Linked DNA regions of Homo sapiens: region 1 is linked to region 2. The links are contacts of gene promoters, found by promoter capture Hi-C in human tissues and cell types (Jung and others, 2019). All regions are on one chromosome and are shown on one strand. The core of a region is centred on a gene start or on the middle of the fragment in contact, and the rest is flanking DNA. Distances in the headings are between cores, read along the strand shown. Region 1 overlaps LINC02691 (long intergenic non-protein coding RNA 2691). Region 2 holds the start of KIF26A (kinesin family member 26A).

Region 1 (7,492 bases), core at 4,750-7,249, 100 kb before region 2:
AAAATAGGAGATGTCTCTGTCCATAAGTAGCAGATTAGTGACTAGGACCAACTCTTCCACTGAACACAACTAGAAAAGCTGGATTAAAATATTTCAATTGGCCAGGCATGGTGGCCCATGCCTATAATCCCAGCACTTTGGGAGGTCAAGGTGGGTGGCTCACTCGTGGCCAGGAGCTCAGGACCAGCCTGGACAATATAGAGAAACCCCGTCTCTACTACCAAAAATACAAAAAAAAAATAATAATAACCTAGCCTAATGTGGTGGCGCACACCTGTGGTCTTAGCTACTTGGGGGGCTGAGGTAGGAGGATCCCTTGAGCCTGAGAGGTGGAGGATGCAGTGAGCCACGATCAGCCTAGGTGACAGAGTGAGACCCTGTCTCAAAAAAAAAATTTTTTTCCAATCTTCTTTAAAGCAGAAAAGAGCAAATCAGGTAGCAAAGAATGCACTACCAGGCCAAAACCTTGGAGGAGTTGAGAGCCCAGCAAGTACTGCAAAACATAAGCAAGAGTCAGCTGCTTCTGCTTTAAAGAACTTTGCAGCCTCAGGAATGACTGTTGCACCCATCAGCCCCCTCAATGGCAGGTGAGGGAGAACCAGCAAGGCTCAGAGGACTCTTAAGAGCCAGCCATGGGCATCTTTTTCCAATCCCACACTCAGTGATGTTGTGTTGGTAACTTGAAGTCAGCCATGGCAGGAGTGTTTACACCATGGGAATTGGCAGGTGCTACAGATCAAAACTGTTTTTTTTTATGAAGAGCCAGTTATTAATTATTTATCAGCATGGCATTAGGGACAACAGAGTCAAAGCCCAGAGTTGGTAAGAGAGAGGAATCCGACAAGGCCCCAACTCTAAGCCTGAAGGCCATGGGTGAGTCAGAAGTAAATCAGTCCTTGTGTGGGCCTGCCATTTGTGATGGTGACTTCAGAGGTCCTGCTCCAGGAAATCTCAAGGCTTAAACTTCGTGTAAAATACTTCCAGACAGGTAGTGCCCCACTAGGCACCTGCAAAAAGCAAACCAACACCATCCTTAAAGAAAGGTACTATTGGCCAGGTGCCGTGGCTCATGCCTGTAATCCCAGGACTTTGGTATACTTGAGGTCAGGAGTTGGAGACCAGCCTGGCCAACATGGTGAAACTCTGCCTCTACTAAAAATACAAAAATTAGCCGGGTATGGTGGCACATGCCTGTAATCCCAGCTACTCAGGAGGCTGAGGCAGGAGAATCGCTTGAACCCGGGAGGTGGAGGTTACAGTTAGCTGAGCTCACACCACTACACTCCAGCCTGGGCAACAAAGTGAAACTCATCAAGAAAAGAAAAGAAAAGAAGAGGGGAGGGGAGGGGAGGGGAGGGGAGCAGAGGGGAGGGGAGGGGAGGGGAGAGGAGAGGAGGGGAGAGGAGAGGAGAGGAGGGGAGGGGACAGAAGAGGAGAGGGGAGGAGAGGAGAGGAGAGGAGAGGAGGGGACAGGAGAGGAGAGGAGAGGAGAGGAGAGGAAAGGAGAGGAACTATCATCCTAAGGCTCAAATTATTCTTACAAGCAATTTTTCAATACAATCTCTAGCACACAAAGATAACCACACACAAAATGAAATTAAATTCACAATCAAGAGCCAGCAAAAACAAAAGACAATAGAAACAGATGCACAAAGACTTCAGGTTTTGGAATTATAAGCAGAAGATCAGATCACATCAAATAACGATGCTTGCTAAGTTTAAAAGATTCAAAAATTCAAACATATCACAGGAGACTGAAAACTATAAAACATGTCAGAGAAGATTTGGAAAAGAACCAAATAAAAATATTTAAAACTGAAAATTAACCAAAAATTAGAACTCAATGCCTAAGTTGTTTTTTTTTTTGTTGTTGTTGTTGTTTGAGACAGAGTCTGGCTCTGTCGCCCAAGCTGGAGTGCAGTGGCGCGATCTCAGCTCACTGCAAGCTCCGCCTCCCGGGTTCGCGCCATTCTCCTGCCTCAGCCTCCCGAGTAGCTGGGACTACAGGCACCCGCCACCACGCCCGGCTAATTTTTTTTTTTTTTTTTTTTTTTTTTTTTTTTTAGTAGAGACGGGGTTTCACCGTGTTGGCCAGGATGGTCTTGATCTCCTGACCTCATGATCCGCCCGCCTCAGCCTCCCAAAGTGCTGGGATTACAGGTGTGAGCCACCATGCCCGGCCAATGCATAAGTTTTAACAGCAGATTTTATACAGCTAAAGAAAGATGAATAAACTAGAAAACCAATCTAAAGACAGTGTCCAAAATGCAACAGGAGACAAAACCAACCAAACAAACAAACAAAAACAGGAAAAACAAATTCAAATTGTATTTCTACATCAACAAACAAGTAAAAAAATGTAATTTAAAAGCATCAAAGAATATTGGGCATCTAGGAATATATCTAACAAATTTATCTGAGACTAAAAATTGTATTGACAGAAATAAGGAACACCAAATAACAAGATAAAACATGCTCCTGTATTGGAAGATACAACCTGTGAAGATGCCAGTTCTTCCTGAATTGCTTTGGTTCAATAATATTCCACCCAAAACCCCAACAGCACTTGGTTCTGTGTCTATGGGAAGCTTAACAAACTGACTGTATAATGTGAATAGTAGCATAAAGAGCCTAGAGCTGCCCGGATACCCTCAAGGAAGAATTTTTTTTTTTTTTGTAAACCTATAACTGCTCAAAAAATAGTCTTTTTTTCTTTTCTTTTTTTTTTTTTTTTTTTTTTGAGATGGAGTCTCACTCTGTCACCCAGGCTGGAGTGCAGTGGCGCAATCTTGGCTCACTGCAACCTCCACCTCCCAGGTTCAAGCTATTCTCCTGCCTCAGCCTCCCAAGTAGCTGGGATTACAGGCATGTGCCACTATGCCCAGCTAATTTTTGTTTTGTTTTTAGTAGAGATTGGGTTTCGCCATGTTGGCCAGGCTGGTCTTGAACTCCTGACCCCAGGTGATCTGCCCAGCTTGGTGTCTCAAAGTGCTGAGATTACAGGCGTGAGCCACCGCGTCCAGACTAAAAAAATAGTCTATTAATTAGAAACAATAACAGATTGGCATTATCTAAAAGGGTTGAAGAGGCGCACATCTCATGACCTGGCAATTCCACTCCTGGGGAGGGACCCTAGGACAAGTGGGCACATGGGCGAGAGTGTTCACAGTAGCATGGGCCACTCAGCCAATTCAGATACCACCCAAGTGTTCATCAACAGCAGAATGGATGAGAAGCCTGTTGTATGTTCGCATGATGGAACATGGTGGAGCCATGGAAGCCAACGGACTATAGCTAGAGAAACCAAGAACTCAACACACTGAGATTATTTCACACCCCTATACAGGAAGATGCAATGTTATCAAGGTTGGCTGCACATCAGACAAAACAGCAGGTGAAAGAAACAAGGAACAAAGCAATCACCTAGCTTTATTCTATTTACATAAACCCCCACCCTGGCCCCGACGGGGAAAGCCACACCAGCTTGTTTAGGGTTGCTAGGACAGAAGTGTTGCCCATATAAGGAGGAGGCAAGAGTGACCGCAGGTGCAGGGGCTCTGCTGGAAGGGTGCAGGGGGAGGGGAATGAGGCTGGGGAACTCTACCGGGTGATCTGGATGGCAGTCACACAGATGCGGGCTCTGAAGTTACACATCCTGTTGTACATTTATGATGCATGTCCTTTTCTATATGGGTGTTGCATTCAAAAATAAAATAAGCATCAAAACAAGAATCGGCTTTGTTCTCTTATTTGATTTATTCTGCTTAATTCAAGGTGCAAATGACCAGCCACTGTCATCACTCCGGGTCCAAGCATCCCCCAGGCCGCATGGCATTGGGCACCTCTGGCATTTCTGGGCGAGTGGACCGGCCAGCCCCAGCCTCCTCGCCCACACAGAGGCTCTCGCCCAGCGTCACCAGGGCCTGGTGTGGGCCTTGTCCCATGGCCATGAAGCACCCTCCTGGGCCAGGCCGCCCCAGTGCTCCCTGCCCTGGAAGCTGCCTCCTCTGCCGTTTCCTGCCTCCTCAGCACAGAAATAACCCCACGTCAGGCACCAGCATGTGTGTGTGGGCTTCTCCCAAGCACACGCAGAGAAGTGACTAACGGGGTGTCACTTTACCAGCGCCTGCAGCGGGGACCCCCACGTGGGCCAACTGGAAGCTTCCAACAGGCTCGCGTTGTGCTGATCAATCATTAATCTGGACATTCAAAAGCATTTTATTTGCTTGACAAGGAGCTGATTGCTGAAGTTGCCAGGAGCCCGAAGTCATTTTTCTCCTTCCTCCCCCTATGAAAAAGCATTCTCCTCCTGGCTAGAGGGGCAGCAGGGCCTGCCAGCGCAGGTGGGGTCCTTGCTGCCCCCCGTCTCATGCTGAGAACTGCAGCGCCTGCCCCCAGCCCCACCACCTCCAAGGCCTTGGCACCTGAGCCCCTCACTTTCTCTTCACACCCCTTCTGCCGTCCTTTCTCATAGCTCTGCCCCCTGCCCTGCCCTGGCCCAGGACTCACCAGCTCCCTCCCCCACAGGGCATAGGCCAACTACACCCCCACCCCTGCAGCCTTCAGGGCCAGCCCAGAGGCCACCTCCACCCATGTTTGGGGCCCCTCTCCAGGACTCCCAGGGCAGCCTTGTTCTCCCACCCCTCCTGGCAGTGCCTCCAGCACCCTGATGCTTGTGCTGTGGCCTTCAGACCCATCCAAAATAAGTTAGGCATGGGAGGTCACTTCATGATCACCAGCTTGAGCCAAAGGGATTGAGACAGTGGCCCATACACCCAGCCAGCCTCAAACAGACCCACTCACCCCGGGGCTTCCCCTCAGGCCCTGTCTCGCAGGAGTCACAGCCTCGAGCATGGCTTCGGTCTTCAAGAAACACCCCCATGGCCTCCCCAGAGCCTAAATCCAGCCCTGAGCAGCCAGAAAGTTCAGGGACAATCACCCCCATGACACAGAGGACAAACCGAGGCCAAAGGAGAAACCTCCTCCAAAGACAACGCGGCACTGCTCACCTAGGGCCCTCCGGTCAAGCCACGAAACTTGCCCCTTCCCTGAGGAGGAGCCAACGTGTTCACCGGAGGGGTCCCTGGCAGCGGAGGTGGCTGCAGTGTGGGCACCACTCTTATGAAGCATCCATCAGAGGCTCCTCCGGTGCATGGCCAGGGGCCTCCACACTCTCGGGGGCCTGAGGGCAGGCGTAGCCTGGCTCCTCCTCAGCCGCACGTCTGGCAGTCTTTCTCTTCTCGCTACAGCTGACATCTGGCTCTCCCCAGAACCCCTACAGTCCTTCAGGCCCCCACAGCCCCAACTCCAGCTCAGGATTGGTCCCTCCGCCATGGCTGCTGCTTGTCAGTCACTCATCAATGGCTTCAGCTTTGGGCCACTCGCTGGGAGGGACAGGATGGTATCCACCTCCCAAAATTCAGATATCAGAGCCCTAAACTCCAGGACCTCAGAATGGGACTGTATTTGGGGATAGGCTCTTTAAAGAGCTGATTCCATTAAAGGGAGGTCATGAGGGTGGCCCTGTTTGCATCCGAGGGGTGTCCTGATAGTAGATTAGGACATAGGCACACCACCCGGAGGAACAGGGAGGAGGTGGCATCTGTAAGCCCAGGACGGGGCCAGAGAGGAAACCAGCCCTGCAATTCCAGGGCCTCAGAGTTCCGGCCTCCAACATCGTGAGAAAGTTCATTTCTGCTTTTGCCCCACCGGTCTGTGGTACTGGCTATGGCAACCCCAGCCAGCCAACGTACTCACAGCCTCTGAGCATCATGGGACGGCCAGTCCATCTGCCCCCTGACCCAGTGACCGTCCTCTCCTCCTGAGGCTGCAGCCTGGGCTGTCATCACCCACAAACCCACCTCCAGCATCCGCTCCACGGCCGCTGCCCTGCCATGCTCCGCACTCCCACCCTCCGCAACTTCCAGCCCCCAGCCTTCCTCCCGACCAGGACCGCGTGTCCTCATTGAGCCAGTGACACTTTACACTTCCTCTCCTGCCCGCCCTTCCTCCTGTGCCCACCTCGGCACCCGTGGTCTATCAGAATGACCACGCCCTTGCCCTCTGCCGCCCGTGCATTTCCTCCCACCATAAGCAACCCCAGCGCTGGGGGAATATACTAGGTGATGGTCTTCGGGTGTTGGTGCAGGCAGCATGTGACTGTGATCCTGGAGAAAAGGAAAGCCTGTGAGATGAGCGCCACGTTGGCCCAGCCCTCCACCCAGGACAATTTCCCCACCACTCATGCAGGAGTGGAGCCCAGGCAGGGTGTGGCAGCAAGCTGAGCCCAGGAGGCAGAAACCAGAGCTCAGGCACTGAGGGGACAGGACTGTGGGGGGCAGGATTCCAGAGAGAGGGTCCGGAGGGGAGTGTAGGGTTCACGGTCCCTGGTGGGGCCTTGCATTCAGAGGGCAGGACCAAGTGCCCTTCTCCAGGGCAAAGGCAGGACAGAGAGCGTAGCAGTTAGCAGCACTGGAAGGTGGTGGGGCTCAGGACCAACCCAAGTCAGGAGGCGAGCTTGGCAGGTGGAGCAGGCAGCTGAGACACAACCATGCTCAGAGCCCTGCTCCAGACACATCCTCAAAACGCCAACACTGAGCCCCCAGGTCCACAGGGGAGACAGAGTGTGGGGACTTTGCGTCACCAAGGTAGAGGCTGGGTAAACGCCATGGGCCTCCAGGACCTGTTTCAACAAAGCATAAAATCGAGATCTGCACAGGCTACTGGGACAAAAATCAGCACTTCTCAGAGGAAGATAACAGAATCCAGAGTTTCCACAAGGTACCATTTACAATGTCTAATTTACAATAAAAAATGACTAGCCAAACAAAGAAACAGAAAAATTGCTTTATGTCAGCAATTATAAATACGTCCCAGGTTTAAAGGGTAATTCCAGAGCTGAAAAATATAATAGCTGAATTTTTTTTAAAACACTGGATAGGTTTAACAACAGATTGGAGATAGGAGAGTCAGCAAGCTTAAAGACAGAAATTTCTATGTCATCTGAAGAACAAAGAGATTGAAGATTTCTAGAACATGAAAAATAAGTGTGTTAAACATATCTTTTTGACACCCAGGACCCTGCTGACCCTGGAGAAACTGCTCTCCGCCACCTCCCAGGCCTAGTCAGTTCCTAGAGAGTGTAAACACTGGGGCACAACTTCCATACGCAAACCAGCTAATCCAGAACCTGCACCCATGCCACCTCCTCTATGGGCTTTCACACTCAGCAGGGTGGCCACAAGTCCCACCCTGATTACCCCAGGGCAGGTACCAGACCACTAGAGACAGCACCTGTACCCCAGAGCCCACCAAAATGACTGAAATGAGCCAATCGTCAGCCTGCTTGCCTGGCCGGACCTTCCCGTGCTTTTCCGTCACTCCTTCTTCCCCCTTGGCCACTCCTGGTGCTGCCCTGTGTGGCCCTGCATGGTGTGGCATGACCCCTCCTCTTGGGAGCTGTGAGTAACAAACCATTTCAATGGCGGTCATC
Region 2 (6,756 bases), core at 4,184-6,683:
CTCCCGGCCCTTCCCCAGGCTCCCTCCCCAACAGTAACTGGGAGCTCCGAGCTCCACGGCCTCCCGAGCAGAGCCCTTCCTGGTAGAGTTAGCCAGTGCCCCGCCTGCCAGCCAGGGAGCCGTGCCCCCTCACACCTCCCCAGGCTGCCACCAAAGCCTGTGACACCTGGGCTCAGCTGGGAATGCTGCTGATGCCAGGCACCCCACCCTGCGGATCCCCGAGGCGGGTGCCACTGCCAGGCACAAAGGTGGCCCTGGCAGCAGTGGAAGCCGGGCCAGGCTCCAAGCAGCGAGGGAAGGTGGCAGCCCCAAGTCTGGGGGCCCAGGGGCTCTGACCACAAGTGGCGAGCATCCGTCATGGGACCACTCGGGCGCAGCTCCTACCCTCCCAGGACCATTGCCTATTTGGGGGCAACAGACCTGGGACCCCCAAATCACAGGCCTGGGGGCTGTGGAGACAGAGATGCCCCCATCCATCCAGGGGGCTAAGAGGGCTTCCTCGGACAAGTGACAGAGGAGGAACGAAAAGCTGGCAGGAGGAACGAAAAGCTGGCAGGAGTCACCTCCAGTCAAACCAGAGAGGCAACAGGAGAAGCAAACAGAAGCCCATGAGCAGCGTCCAAGGAGAAACAGGACTCGCCAAGCCACACAGAGCGGTAGGAGGGCTCCCAGCCTCAGACCATGACAACTGATTCCCTGTACACAGGGGCCACCCGGAGCTTCGCCGGGAGGAGAGTCCAGAGCCACAGCCTCGATGGGCAGCTTCCCTCACTGTTCAGCTGCGTGGCACCAGCAGGCGGCACCAACAGTGGTTCTGGAGCTCTTGGGGGCATAAGGATGAGGCCCCTGCCTGGATAAGCAAGAGATGCACGGGAGCTAAATGAGAATTGATCATTTTCCCCATCGGGGGCGATAATCAATTCAGCACCGGTACTGACGCTTCAAATGTCACGGGGTCTCAGGAGGAGTCAACACCTCACATGACGTGTCTGTCAGCAGCTGGAATGGATCCCCAAGCAGGGACCCTCTCCTTGAAGCAGGGAACCATCCTTTGTGGGGGAGGGGGATGGTCATCCTCCATGGGAACTGTCATTTTGAGGGGCGGATAGCCGGAATCCAGCCCCAGCAGTCCCGGGGGTGACCACCAGCAAGTGGGGTGTGGGAGGAAAAGCCTGGTCATTCAGTCATTCAACAAACACCTCCAGGTGACCCGGACCCCATGCCTGACCTGGCAGAGCTCCTGCTTGTGGGGGAAACCAGGACTGGGGTCAGGGAGAGGGAAGAGGTCTGCCACAACAGTTTGCGGTGGTGGGTGAGCATGGGGAAGCGAGGGGGGCCTTAGATGTGGAGAAAGAGGGAGGCCCCAGCTTTGCCTGCTGAATGGGAGGCACCAGGCTGCAACCTCCCACAGGGACATCTCAGAGTTGGGGGCACCTGAGAAGGGGCCCCTGAGGCCAGAGCAGGGACACTGAGGGGCCTCCAGCCCAGGGAGGCCAGGGGGTCTTGGGATGAGGACAGCATCTATGGCAGGGCAGACAGAGCAGCCCATTAGAGAAAGGTCCCTGGAGGCCACAGGAGGCCAGGCCACAGGGGGCCGCTCCAGGCCATGGGGGTCCTGAAGTAGTCAGCCCGGAGACAAGGCCTGAGGACCCTGGTGAGAGCAGAGGGCACAGTGTGGGGACACAGTGAGGAGCAGGAGCCACGGCCAGAGTCCCATCATGGGGCTTCCCCTCCACACCCAGGGCCAAGCACCCTTCTCAGATCAGGAAAGACAATCCCCTGGGGCTCCAACAGGGGCAGGAAGACAATGTCCCCCTCCCCTACGGCCCCAGACGGGGCACCAGAGCTCAGAAAGGTGGGGAGGGCACAGTCTTATCCATGCCACAGGGATGAGGTCCCCAGATAGGGGACCATGGTCACCCTCACTGCCCAGACAAGGGAACTGAGACAGGCTCAGGCAGACAAGAGCACACAGCAAGGGAGAGGTAGGCCGGGAACCTGGGCTCCAACAGCCCCAGGGACTCGGAGTCCCTAACTCAGCAAACAGCAGCAGCAGCTGCCAAGGTGAGAGTGCATCCCTTCCGGGCACTGCTCTACGTACCTATGCAATGGGCACAAAGACGGTCCCATGTCGCAGAGCAGGAAACAGTGGCCAAGAACTCTCGGGAACCTGCTCAGGGGAGCTGCCTCCTGGCAGGAGGGTGGGCAAGGGCCCAGCAGGGGATGAGCATAGGCAGGACCATGCAGGCATCGGGTGTTGCTAAAGAGCAACACATTCAAGGAGACCCTGGCAGGCTGGGCCCGACCCTCTACGCCTCCCTCTACAACGGAGACAGGCAGGGAGACCCCGGCAGGCTGGGCCCCGACCCTCTACGCCTCCCTCTACAACGGAGACAGGCAGGGAGACCCTGGCAGGCTGGGCCCCGACCCTCTACGCCTCCCTCTACAACGGAGACAGGCAGGGAGACCCTGGCAGGCTGGGCCCCGACCCTCTACGCCTCCCTCTACAACGGAGACAGGCAGGAAGCCCGGAGGCGAGGGCCTCTAATAGCCAGGCCGGGTCCCAGCAAGTCTCTCCACTTCTCTGGGCTTCTGAAGATCCAAGCATGAGACAGATGGATGATTGTGAAGTTCCCTGTAAACAGCTATCCTCAAGGAAGCTCATCTCTCCCCTAAAAAATACGAAACGGGCCCCTGGGGAAATCCTAGAACACCAACCCTAAATACCCCTTGCCACGTTGGCCTTACAGAGCAGAGGCCAGGGCCCACTGGACAGTGCACCAGACTCCGGGGAGCACACTGGGGTCTCCCTGGCCACCCCAGAGATTTCCCTCCCAACCCAAACACAGAAGCAGCCATGTCCACACATCTGGGCCCAGCGGGCCAGGCCAGGGCTGCAGGCTGCAATTTTGCTGGGACTCTGGGGACAGCCCAGGCCCGCACAGGGGACAGGACAATGACACCCGTAAGGCCCCAGGATGGCAGGTGCAGCCCCCCATGCCCTGTGGAGAGACAGTGGAGGATGGGGTCTTCTCTCCCGGGGGCACAGCACCCTGCAGGTGGGACAGCACTTCACAACAGGCCCCAGGTGACAGAGGAGACCACAAAGCAGAAGAAGGGGGCCCAGAGCAGAACAAAGCCCTGGCTGAGACCAGCCCGGGACCCCGGTGTGCTGAGTGCCAGCGCCAGCTAGGGAAGGGGGAGCCCCCAGCTGGCACTCAAGAGGAGTTTCCAGTGTCAAAGGCCAAGCTCAGGGGAGGCTGGAGATGGGTGGTCTGGGGCTCCCCTGAAGACCTGTCTGCCAGAAGAGACCAAGACACCCCCCTAGATGAGGAACCTAGAATCCACCAGGGACTAGTATCACCTGCAGCCCTCTCCACTAGGACCCCTGGCCTGCCCGTGACCAGGAGCCCCCTCCCCTCCACGAGTCCATGCCAGGACCATGGCCCCAGGGCCAGGCAGCATCAGCAGTCCAAGCCCACTCCAAGAATGAGGAGACCAGCTCAATCTTAATGCCCCTCCTGTCTCTGGCGTGTTTCCCCTAATGGGGCAGCAAGATGGGCCTTTAGCTCTGGCTGGCCCTCTCCAGGGGGCCCTCAAGGGTCTCCTGCTACCTTTTAAACTAGATACAGGCCACTGGGGCACAGAGTATGGCCAAGGCTGCAGCCTGTCCAGAGCAGAGGACAGGGCGGGTCCAGCCCCACCCCAGGACAGGCCCACAGGCGCCTGGCCTGAGCCAGAGAGAGGCTACAGCAATCCTATCCCTCGCCGAGACTCCAGAGAGCCCGGAGACGGTGCCCAGGACAGAAACCAGACTGGTACCCTGCCCCACCCTGCCCTGCCCCAGACAGGGCAGTCAGGGTCTCAGCTCACTCCAACCCCCACAGCCCTTAGAGAACTATATTTAGATTCAATGGGGATTATGCGGACTTCCCAGGAACTCTTTCATAAAGGCTGAAGGCCCGGCAGCGGGCTTCCTCTGGAGACCCCCACCCGCCCCCAGCCTTTGCAAACTTCCAGCATGCATTGTTCCTGGAACAATGGTCCCTGCTCCCTCCAAAGCCGGCAGGCCCACTGGCTGGAAATCCAGGAGAACCCCTCCCCTGCAAGCACCTGCCCCTGGGGCTGGAGCCTGGGGAACCCAGAGGGCCCCGACTCAATTCCCCATGGGCGGCCACTGCCTCAGTCTATCCCAGGAGGTATGGGACAACAGTTCTTATCCTTGAGGCTGGGAGAGGAGTAGGCAGGGACCCCCCAGCTGCTGTGGCCCACCCTTTCACCTGCCAGGCCCCCCGGCCCCAGGTATGTAATTTCCAGACACCTGGCTGGGGGCCCAGGTGCCCCAAGGGCCACAATGCACCAAATAACCTCTCCCTGCTGGTAGGGCTGGAGCTGTCCCGCCCTGGGTGGAGTCCCTGCCATCCGCTCTCTCCCCTCCTCCTCCCACACAAACCTGCGTTCCAGCTGTGGGACATCTGGGCTGGGGGAGGAACGCCAGCCCAGGCCCCTCCCATCCGAGGCAGCAGGGCCCCTCGGGCTGAGCTCCCTAGCTCACACATGGTGTTACAGACCGGGAAACTGAGGCCCGCAGAAGGGAAGTCCTGGCTGATAACTCTTTGTGGAAACAGCAGCAGGGAAGGAGTGGAACCCTGCTTCCCTCCAAGCCCCAAGTTCTACCCAAGTTCGGCGTGGCCCTGCTCGGAGGGGTCGGCCTAAGGAAGTGTCACTTACCCGGAGGGTGGTCCCGGGCCCGCTGACCAGCTTCCACGCCTGTCGCTTGAGCTCCACCAGCTTCGTGTGGCAGTGGCGGCACCAGCCGCCTCCGCCGGCCGAGTGGCCCTGCTCTGGGCCGGCCCCGGCGCCTTCGGGAGCAGGGCGGCTGCCGCATGGGTCCTGGTCGGGCCCGGCGGGTAGCCTCTTTCGGGGGGACACCTCCAGCAGCGGCGGCGGCTCGCGGGCCGGGCCGCCCTCGGCCACCTGCAGGGTGTGGGGGCGGAAGCGGACAGTGAGCCTGGGACGTCCGTCGGATCCAGACCCCTGCGCGCCCTGCCCCAGCGTGACGCTCTTGCCAAAGTTAGGAGCCCTGGGCACGACCCTGGCGCTCACCCACTCCCTCCATCCCCGGAGGTCCCGCCTGCGGGTCCGCTACCCTCAGCAGGAGGCCCGGCCCCCAGGGATCCAGCGCACACCGCGAGTATCTTCGCCGTCCCGGGCCCCCGCCGCCCGCCTCCCTCTCCAGGCCGGGCCGCGCGTACCGCGGGCTGCGCAGCGCACAGAGGGACGCCGCGGCCGACCATGGCCGGGGCGCGGGAAGAGCCCGGCAGGCGCTCCCGGCCACGCTGGCTCTCCGGGGGCGCCGCGGCTACGTGATCCGGCCCCGAGGCGCCCCCATGGCCCGGCCCAGCCGCTCGGAAGTTCGCAGAGCCTGCGAGTGTCGCGAGGAGCGCGGTGGCTCCGGTGGGCGCGCTCGGGAGGCGAGGGCGGGGCCGGGGAAGGGCGGGGCTCGGGCTCCCGGGGCGGGCGGCGAGGGGCGGGAGCCCAGAGAGTGCCCCGCCCTTGCCCAGTGCTGGGCGGCGCGTGGGGGGGGTAGGGTCCCCGCTTCCCCACGCGGCCCCGCGCACTCCAAGGACCCCAACCTGTTAGGTGAGTCCCTGCCCCGGGGAGGGGCGCTGGGGGCGGCGGCGAGGATCTAGTTGCGCGCGCGCATGCGCCTCCCGCCCCTCTCCCGGGACACCAGGGCTGCGCGTCTCCCAGGAGGCGCCGACGCCCCTCCCTCTACAGGCGGGAAAACTGAGGCTGCGGAGGGGACGCTCTTGCCCAAGGCCCACGGCGAGGTGGGCCGAGGAAGGGGCGGGACCCCGGCCCCGAGACTCCCAGGCGCCTTTCCAGCAAGCCCAGCGTACTCTGCGTGTCGCGGGCCACTTTAGGTCTAACTGTCGCGCGTGGGTTAGTGTCGCCGCGGTGTGCGCCTCGAGCCGGGCAGCGACCGCGCCGGCGTATCTGTGCCTCGGCGCGTCTGCGAACGGCACGTGTCTTTACAGCCGCGCGTGTGCCCGCAAGTGGGTGTGCGCGCCGTGCCGCCCGGGAAGCGGGAGGTCCTGCGGGCGTGCGCCGGACCTGTTGTCAGCAGGCCTGGCAGATGGGAACTCAGCTCCGGAATTAATTGCTTGTTTGTCTCCGGCTGGGAGGCCGCCCCCCCGCCCTTCCCTGGCGACCAGTTGCTCTGTGCCTAGCCGGGCCCCAAATGTCGCCGGCATCCGCGGCCGCAGGCAGCTCCGGGCCAGGCTCCGGGTCAGCCCCAAAGCCCGGGTCAAGCCAGGCGGGCGCGGCGGGCGGGCTCCCCGTGACGCGAGTGCCCCCTGCCGGCCGCTGCGCACACGGCTCCGAGACTGGGGAGACAGCGCCGCGCGTCCCAGGCCTGAGGCGCACTCGGAAACTCCGAAGGTCGTGACCCGGCGGAGACCAGGACACGCGGCTGCCGGCACATACGGTGAGGCCTTCGCAGAGACTCAGTACGTCAAAGTGACCCTTTCCGTTTTGCCCACCCCCTTTTACTTGGATAAGCCTCCCCGCCCACGCACGCACTCCCCAGAAAGTGGGGTGGGTGATCCCCTCCCGGCTTTCCGGGTCGTTGATGACCTTAGGGGTTCGAAAACGCAAGGGGGTATGGAATAAAGTGGCAGGGGCTCTCCACTCTTTCTGAGATCCGTAAGCCTGCAGTCGCTTTCCACCCAGCCTGGGGGGCCGGAAGCGCTT

Evidence for each region. The method cuts DNA at HindIII sites, captures the fragments that hold promoters and counts their contacts. A contact is called where the count stands out against the background at its distance.
Region 1: a fragment that was not itself captured here is called in contact with the fragment with the promoter of KIF26A in region 2 in 3 of the 25 tissues and cell types used here (dorsolateral prefrontal cortex, mesendoderm cells and pancreas).

The regions. Positions count from the first base shown.
Region 1 is chr14:104,236,612-104,244,103 of GRCh38, reverse strand. All of the region lies in intron 1 of LINC02691 (long intergenic non-protein coding RNA 2691), which reads right to left. Among named protein-coding and RNA genes, the nearest start is that of LINC02691, 17 kb to the right of the region's middle. RefSeq lists enhancers at 3,423-4,267, 4,268-5,113, 5,965-6,466. The HindIII fragment of the contact is 5,247 bases long and covers 3,376-7,492 here.
Region 2 is chr14:104,137,264-104,144,019 of GRCh38, reverse strand. KIF26A (kinesin family member 26A) reads right to left here and starts at 5,433. Exons shown (of 15, transcript NM_015656.2): 1 at 5,256-5,433; 2 at 4,732-4,977. The coding sequence starts at 5,297. KIF26A-DT (KIF26A divergent transcript) reads left to right here and starts at 5,391. Exons shown (of 3, transcript NR_158217.1): 1 at 5,391-6,490. RefSeq lists a silencer at 6,265-6,434 and an enhancer at 6,131-6,756. The HindIII fragment of the contact is 16,750 bases long and covers 1-6,756 here.